Linked DNA regions of Homo sapiens: region 2 is linked to region 1. Evidence: promoter capture Hi-C in 16 types of primary human blood cells and fetal thymus (Javierre and others, 2016). All regions are on one chromosome and are shown on one strand. The core of a region is centred on a gene start or on the middle of the fragment in contact, and the rest is flanking DNA. Distances in the headings are between cores, read along the strand shown.

What was found. Contacts are between HindIII fragments. The CHiCAGO score rates a contact against its expected background, and 5 or more counts as called.
Region 2: a contact is called between a fragment that was not itself captured here and the fragment with the promoter of HOXD1 in region 1, in 1 of 17 cell types (total CD4 T cells). The highest score is 5.6, in total CD4 T cells.

Annotation. Positions count from the first base shown.
Region 1 is chr2:176,183,928-176,190,460 of GRCh38, forward strand. HOXD1 (homeobox D1) reads left to right here and starts at 4,741. Exons shown (of 2, transcript NM_024501.3): 1 at 4,741-5,526; 2 at 5,881-6,533. The coding sequence starts at 4,875. The coding sequence ends at 6,215. HAGLR (HOXD antisense growth-associated long non-coding RNA) reads right to left here and starts at 5,031. Exons shown (of 3, transcript NR_033979.2): 1 at 4,887-5,031. MIR7704 (microRNA 7704) reads left to right here and starts at 4,916; the gene lies at 4,916-4,974. The HindIII fragment of the contact is 11,390 bases long and covers 1-6,533 here.
Region 2 is chr2:177,127,150-177,132,767 of GRCh38, forward strand. All of the region lies in intron 1 of LOC105373760 (a long non-coding RNA gene), which reads right to left. Among named protein-coding and RNA genes, the nearest start is that of MIR4444-1, 83 kb to the right of the region's middle. The HindIII fragment of the contact is 3,611 bases long and covers 1-3,394 here.

The sequences.
Region 1 (6,533 bases), core at 3,491-5,990:
TCTGGGGGTGACTCAAGAAACCTGAACTTTTAAACAAGATTCTATGGTGATTTCTACCCACCTGATGTGGTTTTGGGAGGCAACAATCTAAAGATATCCTTCAGCCAATATTAGTCACGGTAAAGACACACCATTCTGTCCACTCTGCTTACGTCCAACAAACACTTTTGAATGCCTCCATGTGTCAATCACTGGCTTGACCAGTAAGCCTTTCATTCACAAAATTCTCAGGGAAAGGCACAGCACTTTAAATGGTTTTCCTCAGGGAATGTCATATTGTCAGATTTCCAACAGGTTTAGAATTCTTGTCCTTAGGACTCCTTTGCATCCCTACCTCCATCCTAGGATGACTGAGGGATGCTACAGAGAACTGCATCTTAATCTTCACTTTCTCTTAATGTGGATTAAGAAAAAAAAGACACCCACCCTTTTTTACCCCAACAAACAAGATTTTCTGTGACTTGGGGTTAGGAAGCCAAGCGTTGCAATGTGCTCAAGTGCCTCCAAGCGGTAACACAGTGGGACTTGTCTAGAGGGCTTACCCGGAGCTTCTTGAAAACAACTTAAAACACACAGAAGCAATCCCTGCATTTTGGGAGGGTGAGGTAGGTGGATCACTTGAGGTCAGGAGTTCGAGACCAGCCTGGCCAACATGGCAAAACCCTGTCTCTACTAAGAATATAAAAATTAGCTGGGTGTGGTGGCATGTGCCTGTAGTCCCAGCTACTTGGGAGGCCGAGGCATGAGAATCGCTTGAACCCGGGAAGTGGAGGTTGCAGTGAGCCAATATCGTGCCACTGCATTCCGGCCTGGGTGACAAACCGAGACTCCATCTCAAAAATAAAATAAAATAAAATAAACACACAGAAAACCAGACTGCCACCCTTTATCACTTCTGTCTGCAGAAAAGAGGCTAGTTATTAGAAAGGGAGAGAAAGGTAGTCATGAAAGGGATAGGGAGTGGGTAGGGGGTGGCTGCTGTGGTGAGCAGGATGGGAGAGATTTCAAAGCATTCCTACATCAAACACAAGCTGGCAATTGGGCCCCTCTGCTGTCACCTCCCGTGGAGAACTCAGCACCAGGACCCAGCAGAGCAAGTGACCCTGGGGAATTCATGGCTTGACAAGTAATAAAATTAGTAAGACATTTCTCCCATACTTGGTGAACATCTAAGAGACAAACTTTAATGTTACTCAAAATATGCTATATTCACATCTTTCTATATTTCCCCAATAATATCTTCCAATTTCTCCTTAGATAATTATACATTAAGATTCCTCTAGAGTAGATTTATAGTATAGCTAAAACCTGTGTCAGAAATAAATCTCTAGCTCCTTTGGTTTAAGACTGTCTTTTCCCTAGCCTAACTTTCTCCTAACAAAATGTCATTACATAGTAAATCCTTGGCAAACATCTGTTGAATTTGAGTATGAGATGACCAGAGTCATGACTTCCAACCTGAGCAAGTCAAGAACCAGTCCAAGAATGGAGATGCTAACTCTGAGCCCCAAGGTGTGGGATATGCCAAGGATTTGGAGATTAAGGGAGTGGAGAGAAGGGTGAACAGAATGTAGCTTTCTTTTTGTTTGAGACGGAGTCTCGCTCTGTCACCCAGGCTGGAGTGCAGTGGCATGATCTTGGCTCACTGCAACCTCCACCTCCTGGGTTCAAGCGATTCTTCTGCCTCAGCCTCCCAAGTAGCTGGGACTACAGGCGTGTGCCACTAATTTATTTTTATTTTTATTTTTTTTAGTAGAGATGGGGTTTCACCGTGTTAGCCGGGCTGGTCTTGATCTCCTGACCTCGTGATCCACCCATCTCAGCCTCCCAATGTGCTGGGATTACAGGTGTGAGCAACCGTGCCCAGCCAGAATGTAGTTTTCTGTATGCGATTATCAAAGAAATGCTATTGGGTCTGAACAAATATTGAACACCTCTCCCTCGCTCTCACCCACAGTTGTGAAAACAAAACAAAACAAAACAGTATTTTTAAAAACTTCATTCTTTTTTAGGGCACTTTCTTCCCTCAGAAAGGCTAAATCTCCAAAATTTTACTTGATGGAGCTAGTGTGGATAGCTCATGGGTGCATTAAAGTCAAGGCCTAATTATATCATGAAGGACCCAGCCTTTGCCCCAAATGCCCAGGAGGAAAAACTTAGTCTTTGTTGCCATGAAAGCTGCCAGGACACCTAGGCAGCCTGATTTTTCTGAAACCTTAGAGAAAAGGCCCTTAATTTGAGGGGTTTTGGTCAGACTTGCCGGACAGTCAGGCTGACTCTTCTGCCCTAAACCCTGGGTTGCAGCCGGCTGGATGTCTTCCCCAAAGAGGTTTACAAAGTCATCCTTCCTTCTTGACCCATGGGGCCTCTAGGCTTTGGAGTTGTGATAGGATAAGTATCATTTGAGGGAACACTGTGAGAGCTGGGACATCTTGCAGATAAAAACTGGCTATTAAAATCTAGCCAGAGGTGGAGGAGGGGGCATTGTGAACTCAGCAGCATCTTATTTGCTGTTACTTTTGCATAAATGGCACAGGAGAGCAGTGAAGAAACGTGTCTACATTTTAAGGCTGAGCTAGCTCTGAAGAGCTCTAACATTTCCTAACTGGGGTGTTAGGGAAGAACTTTTATTTTTCTCTTCTTAAAAATTATTTAGGGCCGGGCGCGGTGGCTCACGCCTGTAATCCCAGCACTTTGGGAGGCCGAGGCGGGCGGATCACGAGGTCAGGAGATCGAAACCATCCTGGCTAACACGGTGAAACCCCGTCTCTACTAAAAATACAAAAAATTAGCCGGGCATAGTGGTGGGCGCCTGTAGTACCAGCTACTCGGGAGGCCGAGGCAGAAGAATGGCGTGAATCGGGGAGGCTGAGCTTGCAGTGAGCCGAGATCGCGCCACTGCACTTAAAAAAAAAAATTAAATAAATAAATAAATAAAAATTATTTAGGACCTTATCTGACTGGCTATAGCACAACTGAAATAGCAAAATCAAGATTGAAGGGCTATTTTCAGCACAGGTATTCCATTTCCAATCAAACTCAAGAACTCCAGCAGTGCAGGAACCACAGACCTCTTTAACTTTGTGCTGATTCCTAGGCATCCACCCTCTACTGGCTCCCCTCAACCTGGGGACATCCCTCCCCCATCCTGCAGCAACTTCGGGTCCATCAGTAGTCCACATTTTGGTAGGGCTTTGTTTATTCACAAGTCCACAACCCTGGAAGGAACTGGCTCCCTGGGCTGTGATGGCGCCTATTCTAAAGACTTCCTCAGAGTGGAAATTTAGGCAACAACAGCTCAATCGCTCTTTTATGACAAGTCAATCAGTAAAACAATGATAAAACCTCGGTTACCATAACTTAGAGGCTGTAATAGATTAACTTTTCAAGGGCACTTGATATAAGCTCTGAGTAGACTCTTTAGAGTCTTTATTCACACAGGGTTTTAGGAAACCACCCTCTTTCATAACTACTGTGTGTAAATAACCTCTATTTATCTAATTTGTAATTTTCCTACAGTCCCCTCAAAAGGGAACATTAAAAGAAATACTAAAGGAAGTTGGAAAGTTTGTCAATGTAAAGCTGGTCTTTGTAACCTTTCTACTCTTCATTTCCTGTGGCAATTGCACTTTTATTTCCCGTCTCTCTACACTCAGTAAACAAAACCATATTATCAAGGGAAAGACGTGAGCCCATTAACATTGTGAGCCCTCAGATTTCACTCACAAGAGACGATGCAGCACTTATCTGATGGAGCAGAAGCTCTAATTGCTTCGAGGTACAAGTCCATCTAAACCTCTGAGATCTCACCCGTCCCCGGTAAGCCCTTGCGCCCTCCAGACAAGCTCCTCAGTGAAAGCAAGCGCCGCACCGGTGCCTGTGCCAGTCTCCCAGAAAGGAGCATAAGGAGTGTTCCACCACCACTCTGGATTCTTTATTCCAACAACCCAGCCGGAGGGGAAAATCTGCTAAACCACCCCACAAGGCAGAAACTTTATCAAAATCTGGCACTACAACACTGGCCCTCATCACGCCGCCACAAATTGCGAGGGATAGAAGAAAGCTGCAAAGTCACGTTAAAAGGAAGCCTAGTCAAAAAGTGAAAATTTTGTCCCGCCCTAGGCACACAGCACTCACAGCATAAGATGTAGTTCCATGAGTCCTAGGAAAGGGGGAAGAAAGGAAAAAACCAAACATCTGCTCTAGGTTTAGAAGAGGGATAACATCAGCGCCAAGCAAACCGAAAGCGCAGAGGACTCAGAAGAGGGGAAGAGGAATAACTTTATCTGTCCTGGAGGTGGGCGAAGAGCAGTCTCCACCGGCCGCGCGTCACGCTCCCATTTAACCTTTTCCATGCCGCGACGCCCACACTCCGCCCTCGAGGGACTAGCCCCCCCCACGATCCAGAGCAGAAGCGGCTCGCCCCGCTGCATCCACGGGCCCTCACCCAAGCGTCCAGTCCTGCCTTTCTCCCCCCACCTCGCCCAATACCTGTCCGAGAGCAGGCGTTCTGCCCTCTCGCCCCGCCCTTGCCCAGGCAGCCCCCGGTCGCGACGGCTCTCCTCGGGGCTCGGGGGCGCTGGGCGGCGGCCCTGGGCTGCTTTGGCTAACTTGGCTGCGGGGCAGGCGCGAGGAGCGGCGCGCCGACCGGGCCGAGCGGAGAGGCCGCCCATTGGCCGGCCAGCGCCACGTGGCCGCCCCCGCCGGTATATTAGGCCACTATTTACCTCCGGCTCACTCGCCATGGGTTGGAGAGGGCAGCTCGGGTAGAGAGGGCTGGCGGAGCGGCGCAGACGGCGGCAGTCCTGCTCAGCCTCTGCCCGGCTCCGTACTCCGGCCCCGGCCTGCGCCCTCAGAAAGGTGGGGCCCGAACCATGAGCTCCTACCTGGAGTACGTGTCATGCAGCAGCAGCGGCGGGGTCGGCGGCGACGTGCTCAGCTTGGCACCCAAGTTCTGCCGCTCCGACGCCCGGCCCGTGGCTCTGCAGCCCGCCTTCCCTCTGGGCAACGGCGACGGCGCCTTCGTCAGCTGTCTGCCCCTGGCCGCCGCCCGACCCTCGCCTTCGCCCCCGGCCGCCCCCGCGCGGCCGTCCGTACCGCCTCCGGCCGCGCCCCAGTACGCGCAGTGCACCCTGGAGGGGGCCTACGAACCTGGTGCCGCACCTGCCGCGGCAGCTGGGGGCGCGGACTACGGCTTCCTGGGGTCCGGGCCGGCGTACGACTTCCCGGGCGTGCTGGGGCGGGCGGCCGACGACGGCGGGTCTCACGTCCACTACGCCACCTCGGCCGTCTTCTCGGGCGGCGGCTCTTTCCTCCTCAGCGGCCAGGTGGATTACGCGGCCTTCGGCGAACCCGGCCCTTTTCCGGCTTGTCTCAAAGCGTCAGCCGACGGCCACCCTGGTGCTTTCCAGACCGCATCCCCGGCCCCAGGCACCTACCCCAAGTCCGTCTCTCCCGCCTCCGGCCTCCCTGCCGCCTTCAGCACGTTCGAGTGGATGAAAGTGAAGAGGAATGCCTCTAAGAAAGGTAAGTCCGCGGGCCTTGGATGGGGCCACCTGGGGTTGGGGACGGAGCCTCCCCCGCGGAAATGCGCTGGGAGCGTGGTGTCGCTGCCTTTCCAGACAGCGGTTTGGGTTTTGTGGAGGAGACGCGTTCCCGGGCGAATTCCATGGAGTCTGCCTCGAGTACAGATTCGGAAAATGTGCCAGGCATTGAGAAAATTTCAGGAAGGAGCTCTCCGTGGAACTTCTCCTGGTACAAATTCTGTTCCTAGGGACCCAGGAGGGCTGCGCTGGGACTTTGATTCTAACTAGCTCCACTGCTCACCCACATTCTGTCCCCGGCCTCAGGCCTGGCTGACGCCCTGTCTTTACGTTGCAGGCAAACTCGCCGAGTATGGGGCCGCTAGCCCCTCCAGCGCGATCCGCACGAATTTCAGCACCAAGCAACTGACAGAACTGGAAAAAGAGTTTCATTTCAATAAGTACTTAACTCGAGCCCGGCGCATCGAGATAGCCAACTGCTTGCACCTGAATGACACGCAAGTCAAAATCTGGTTCCAGAACCGCAGGATGAAACAGAAGAAAAGGGAACGAGAAGGGCTTCTGGCCACGGCCATTCCTGTGGCTCCCCTCCAACTTCCCCTCTCTGGAACAACCCCCACTAAGTTTATCAAGAACCCCGGCAGCCCTTCTCAGTCCCAAGAGCCTTCGTGAGGCCGGTACTTGGGGCCGAAAAACTGTGGCCTGCAGAAGTCCCAGGCGACCCCCATCCCTATCTAGACTTAGGAGCTCAGTTTGGGATGGAGGTGGGAGAACAAAAATGAATAGGGATTTCACTTGGGAAATGAAGTACTTTAGTTGGCTTCCGAGTTCCAGACTATATGTCCAGATATTAATTGACTGTCTTGTAAGCCACTTGTTTGGTTATGATTTGTGTCTTATCAGGGAAAAGGTGCCCAGCTGCCAGCCCAGCTCCGCTGCTATCTTTGCCTCACTTAGTCATGTGCAATTCGCGTTGCAGAGTGGCAGACC
Region 2 (5,618 bases), core at 339-2,838, 940 kb after region 1:
AGTAACATTCCCCCGTATTCAAGTGTTCTCCACTTCAGGACACACAAAGATTATAATTCCCCCATCCCCCTTATTTTATACATAGCTATGTAATTATTTCTGGCCAATGAAATGAGAAAAGGAAGTGAAATGCATTGTTTCCAGGCAAAAGCAGTAATTGGCAGTCTGTGACTCCATTTTTCTCTTCCTCTCTTTGATGAGCTCTGAAGTACTGCAAGGGCAGGTCACTATCTGAAGATGGTCAAACCTCCATCTCTCTAAAACATGATCTTCCTCTGCTGGCATAAGAAACTGTTAGTGTTACTTTGAGATATGAAACCAGATTTTTTCATGTGTCTGTCAGTTAAATACCATTATTTAATTCTTTTAGGGCTCTTTTTGAGAGTGAGTCTCCAATAAAACTCTATTAGGATGTGCTATGGTTGTTTTTTGTTTAAGGTGGAAACAGAGTTTTGCTATGTTGTCCAGGCTGATCTCAAACTCCTGGACTCAAGTGCTGAGCCTCCCATCTCAGCCTCTCAAAATGCTGAGCCTCCCATCCTAGCCTCCCAAAATGCTGAGATTACAGCATTTGTAATGCCACATTAAATCTTGTGCCATGGATTTAATCAAACACAAACACATCAGGCTGAGCGTGATGGCTCATGCCTATAATCCCAGCACTTTGGGAGGCTGAGGCAGGCAGATTGCTTGAGCCCAGGAGTTTGAGACCAGCCGGGGCAACATGTTGAAACTCTTTCTCTACCAAAAATCACAAATTAGCTAGGCGTGGTGCGGCACCTGTAGCCCCAGCTCCTCAGGAGGCTGAGGTGGGAGGATCACCTGAGCCTAGGGAGGTCAAGGCTGCAATGAGCCAAGATCCCACCAACCTGGGCTGTGTGCCTGGAGCTGTCCTTTCAGTACCATCTGAAATGTCATCCGTGCCCTGACACCACTGCTGTATATTATGTGCGTGTAGGTGAGCTTCATGTGAACCTTCCCTGACACGTCTTCCCTCCTGTGCTCATTGGAGTGGACCTCCATTGTGCATATCATGGTGCACTGTTAATTATTCATATTTAAGACAGAGAACTTCTGGGAGGGTGTCTTATATTACCCTTTTTCCTCCAATATGTAGCACTTTGTCCGAGAGAAGATAAGTACCAAATGTTTGCATGGAGAATGAATAAACAGATGTATTTACAAGTCTGCTCATACCTGGAATGATCTAGAGCCACAAAGAGCCAACTCCCTTTCTTTACAATTAACTTCATGTTATTGTTGCCATATTTTAACACTCCTAAGATGACTGCCAATTAGCATACTATATTATAAAGTAAGAGAATGGTGAGTCATTTGTTGAAAGCCTTTAAAGATCATTCACTAGCACTCAAGGCAAATGATATATGGATAAAAATAGCCAAAAAAGCACAGATTGGGATGATATACTAATATAATTTTAGAAAAATGATTCCCAACTTTTTAGAAGTGTCATACTTCGTAATTGATTATTGGGTTTTATGACATTTCCTTATCCCAGCCTTAAAATGCTGTTGTTTTATATATTTACTTTCAAAAGGCCTAGGTAAGTGATCAGTTTACCCATATATTTCCTTCTATTTCTCCTTTTCAGTTTTGAAGACAGACAACAATTTTCCTCTATGTTACTTTCAACTATTATGCTCCAACCACAGCAAGAGTAACTCTGAAAGGTTAATCCCTTGGTTCTCAACCTGGCTACATCTTAGAATCACTTGGGGAACTTTGCTAAAAACACAGATGCCTAGGCCTCACCCCCAAGAGATTGTGATTTAGCTGACTTGGGTATGATCCAGATTATTTTAAAAACCCTACAGTCAGGATTGAAAACTACTAGTTTAGTCAAATCATCAGTTGGAAAGAACACTGGACTGGGAATAAAAGGGTCACTCATTCATTCAATACACATGCTTGTCAGCCTTCTCACCACCTACTGAATACTATACTAAGCCCTGGGATGCAAAGATAAATGAAGCACAGCCCTAGAGAGGTTCACCGTCTGACTAAATAGAAAAGTAAATTACTTAAGTGCTCTAATTAAAAGAAACAGGGGACTATGACAGACCAAAGGAGGAGGGGAATTACTTAATCCTGGCTGGGAGGGTTAGAAAATTCTTTTTGAAAGAACTACATTGTCCGGGATGTTGAACAAGGTAGCATTTAACCTGGCAAGAAAAGGATAACAAAGACATCCAATAGAGAAGACAACATTCATGAAGTATAAAATTGTGATACCGTCAGGGAACTGAAAGCAGTTAATGTGTCTAGAGCTTGCCATTGGGTAAGTCAGGGAGGCAGCTGTGGAAGAGGAGGGGGAAAAGCAGGCAAGGGCCAGGTCATGACAATCCAAGGGGCCTCAGTTCTGACAACAAAGTCATCACAAGGTCAGAAGCCACCTGGCTATCTATGAGATATACAGTGACACCTGAAATATATTGCCACTGAATTGCGATATACACCTTGCAATGAACTCCTGTTCCTGCCCAGCAACATGAAGGCATGGCCTACAGGGACAGGCCAAGGAGTGGCTTAGAGTGCTTTAGCTCCTCTGTAATACCTGTTTTTATTCGCCTCTTCCAGGGGCTATCTCAAATGAAAACAAAACCTTGTTGTTATACAAACACAGCTTCAGTACAAGTCCTTGAACACCTCTTCCAACTGCAGGTCCTCCCCTGAGCCCCATCCTGCCTTTGAAGTGGTATTACATTGTGGTTCAGCTCACAGTTTCTGGAATCAGACCATCTAGATCCAGATTCTGCCTCTTATTACTTACCAGCATTATTATCCTGAACAAGATACTTAACTTATCTAGGCCTTAGTTTACGTACCTGTAAAATGGAATTATAAACAGTACCTCTTTCAGAGGCTGTGAGAATGCACTGAATGTACAGCACTAAGCACAGGGTCTGGCACAGAGGCAGCATTCCATCTGTATTCGATCTAAAGCTCCACTGCAATCAAGGTGGTCCTCACTCCAGCAGCTCCCATGTCACAGGGACATGAGTGAGAAATGCCACAGCTTAGGCCCCACTTCCAGTCACCTAAACCAGAATCTGCTTTTTAACAGGATCCCCAGGTGATTCACATGCACATGAAAGTTTGAGAAACACCGCCACAAAGTATTATCTAGCTGCAGCATTCTAAAATTTTAAATCTCAAAAGCGGGGAATGATCCTGTTTACTCAAAGTAAGAGTGCTGAAGGCAATGGTTCTCGACCTTCACTGGGCATCAGAATCACATGGTGAACTTCTAAAGAAATCACATATGCCTGGGCCCAACTCCACCAACCCTATGCCACCTCCACCTCCCTAGAGATTCTGATTCTGTTGACCTAGGTGAGTGGAACCCAGGCATCTTTTTTTTTCTTTTTAACAAAGCTTCCCACATGATTCTAATGATATTGAGACCCACTGGTTTAAAGAGAGCATTAAATTCTGACAAAGTCTACATGGCAACTGGGCTTATCAGGAAAGGAAGCTGAGTCGGTAAAAAGAAGCTAATCTGTGAGTTGAGGAAGCAGTTCCACTGAGACCTGCCAGGCGTTTAAAACCTCCGCTGTTCTCCTCAGGCTGTAACGGCCTTACCTTCTCCATGTCTGTACCTGTGGTTTCTACTCCAGTCCTTCACTCCCCCTCTCCTTAAATCTTGATGAAGGCGCTTGACTCTAGCGTGGCACATTCACCTCCATTGCACCTCTGTCTGCTTCCTCCCCAGCAGCAGCCCTCTATGGCTCAGGTACTGTCTGGTGACTCAGTCCGTACTGCCCAGTGCCCCACTGTGTGCTCACCCACATCCTATGTTTTTGACCCAGGGCTGGTCCTCGATCCTGGTCCTGATGAGAACTAGAAGACACTTTCTCAGGGCCATAATCCCGAGGAAGAAAGAATACAAACCTTCCCCAAAACACAGAAGGCTCAGCAGGCTAGGGAGAGATCTGCCTTCTTGAAGACAAGAGAACCAGCTTCTCCAAGCTGCAGCTGCTGACGGTTATGCCCCAGTGCTCCTCCTCCCAACTCCAACTAATTTTAGCAGCAAAATATCTAATAACACAGAAGAAAATTAAACAATTAAGTGTTGCAATTGTAATCTTTAATTTTGAAAATTTCATAGCAAAATGCTCTGAGATTGACCCAAGGGTTAGAAAACACTGATTTCAAAACTTGCTCTTATAAATTAAATCATTGGTTTAGTAGCACTAATTCTAAGTGCAATGGGAGGTCATTGAAGGGTTTGAGTAGAGTTCAAACGTAATCCAATTTGCATTTTTTAAAGACCCTTCTGGTTGCTGTGTGGCAAATAGAATGCAGGTGGCAAAAGTGAAAGCAGGCAGACCAGTCCAGAAGTGACTACGGGGATCCAGGAACAAGATGGTGGGAAGCTGGACTTGGGTGATGACAGCGAGGATCAACAAAGCCTGTGAGATTCAAGAGATGTTTTGAAGGTAGAATTAACAGGACTTGCTGATGGATTCAATAAGGTGGGAGGAAAAAAGAGGAACCAAGGATAACTCCTAGGATTCTGGCTTGAACCTCTGGAGAGAGCCACTTACCATAATGGGAAAGACTAGCAAAGACAAGGTCCTTGAACAGACCTGCTGAGGTGTTCTGGCAACCACCCAGCAATAAAGGGGAAGGGGCAAGTGGAACCACCAGGTAGAATGTCAGAGGAGCCAGGAGCCTGGCAGGAGCAGACATCCAGGTTTGCATTTAGCATTAAGAGGATCTAGCAGCCTGGACTGAAGCTTCAAACACCAGTGCATTTCCCCAGGTCCCAATCTTTCAGTAATGAGGATATGTATCAGAGAATAAAGAGACACTCAAACACAGAAGGAAAAAAAAGACACAGATATAGCAATAGATGGAGCTTGGGCACAAGCAATGAAGCAAGGACTATGACCCTGGAACCTAGGCAGGGCAGAATGAGAGGTAGTAAACAGTCTCTTTTCTGGCAAGGCACAGTGGCTCATGCCTGTAATCCCCAACACTTGTGGAGGCCAAAGCAGGAGGACTGCTTGAGCCCAGGAAGTTGAGGCTGCAGTGAGCCATGGCCACACCACTGCACTCCAGCCTTGGTGACAGAGAAAGACCCTGTCTCAAAAAATGAAAAATAAACAAACAAAAAAAGATCCTCTTTTCTGATATGTATTCCCAGAATCTAGCATAGTCCTTGCCCATGTTAGGTACTCAGATATTTGTTAAATGGCTTTATTTATTTAATGAATACTTACATAATTCTTACTATGTACCCAAGCACCATTCTAAGTGCTTCAAAATATTAACTTGTTTAATCCTCACAACAACCCTATGAAGTAAAAACCATTGCTAACCCCATCTTTCAAAACCAATCAAAACTGAGGCGTGTCAGAAGAAGTAATTTGCCCAGGGTCACACAGTAAGTAATGGCAGAGCCAGGAGTAGTCTCCAGAGTTCACACTCTCAGCCACCACGCTACGCTCTGAGTGAATAAATGAAGTCAGAGGTACTTCCTTTACTGAGATAGAGATTTTTCCAAAGTTCTTACTTTCAAGCTGCTGTAAAATGCTAGTAAATTCAAAGTTGTTGCTGAGATCAAAGCCAAGTGAGTCTGAATCCACCCTTAT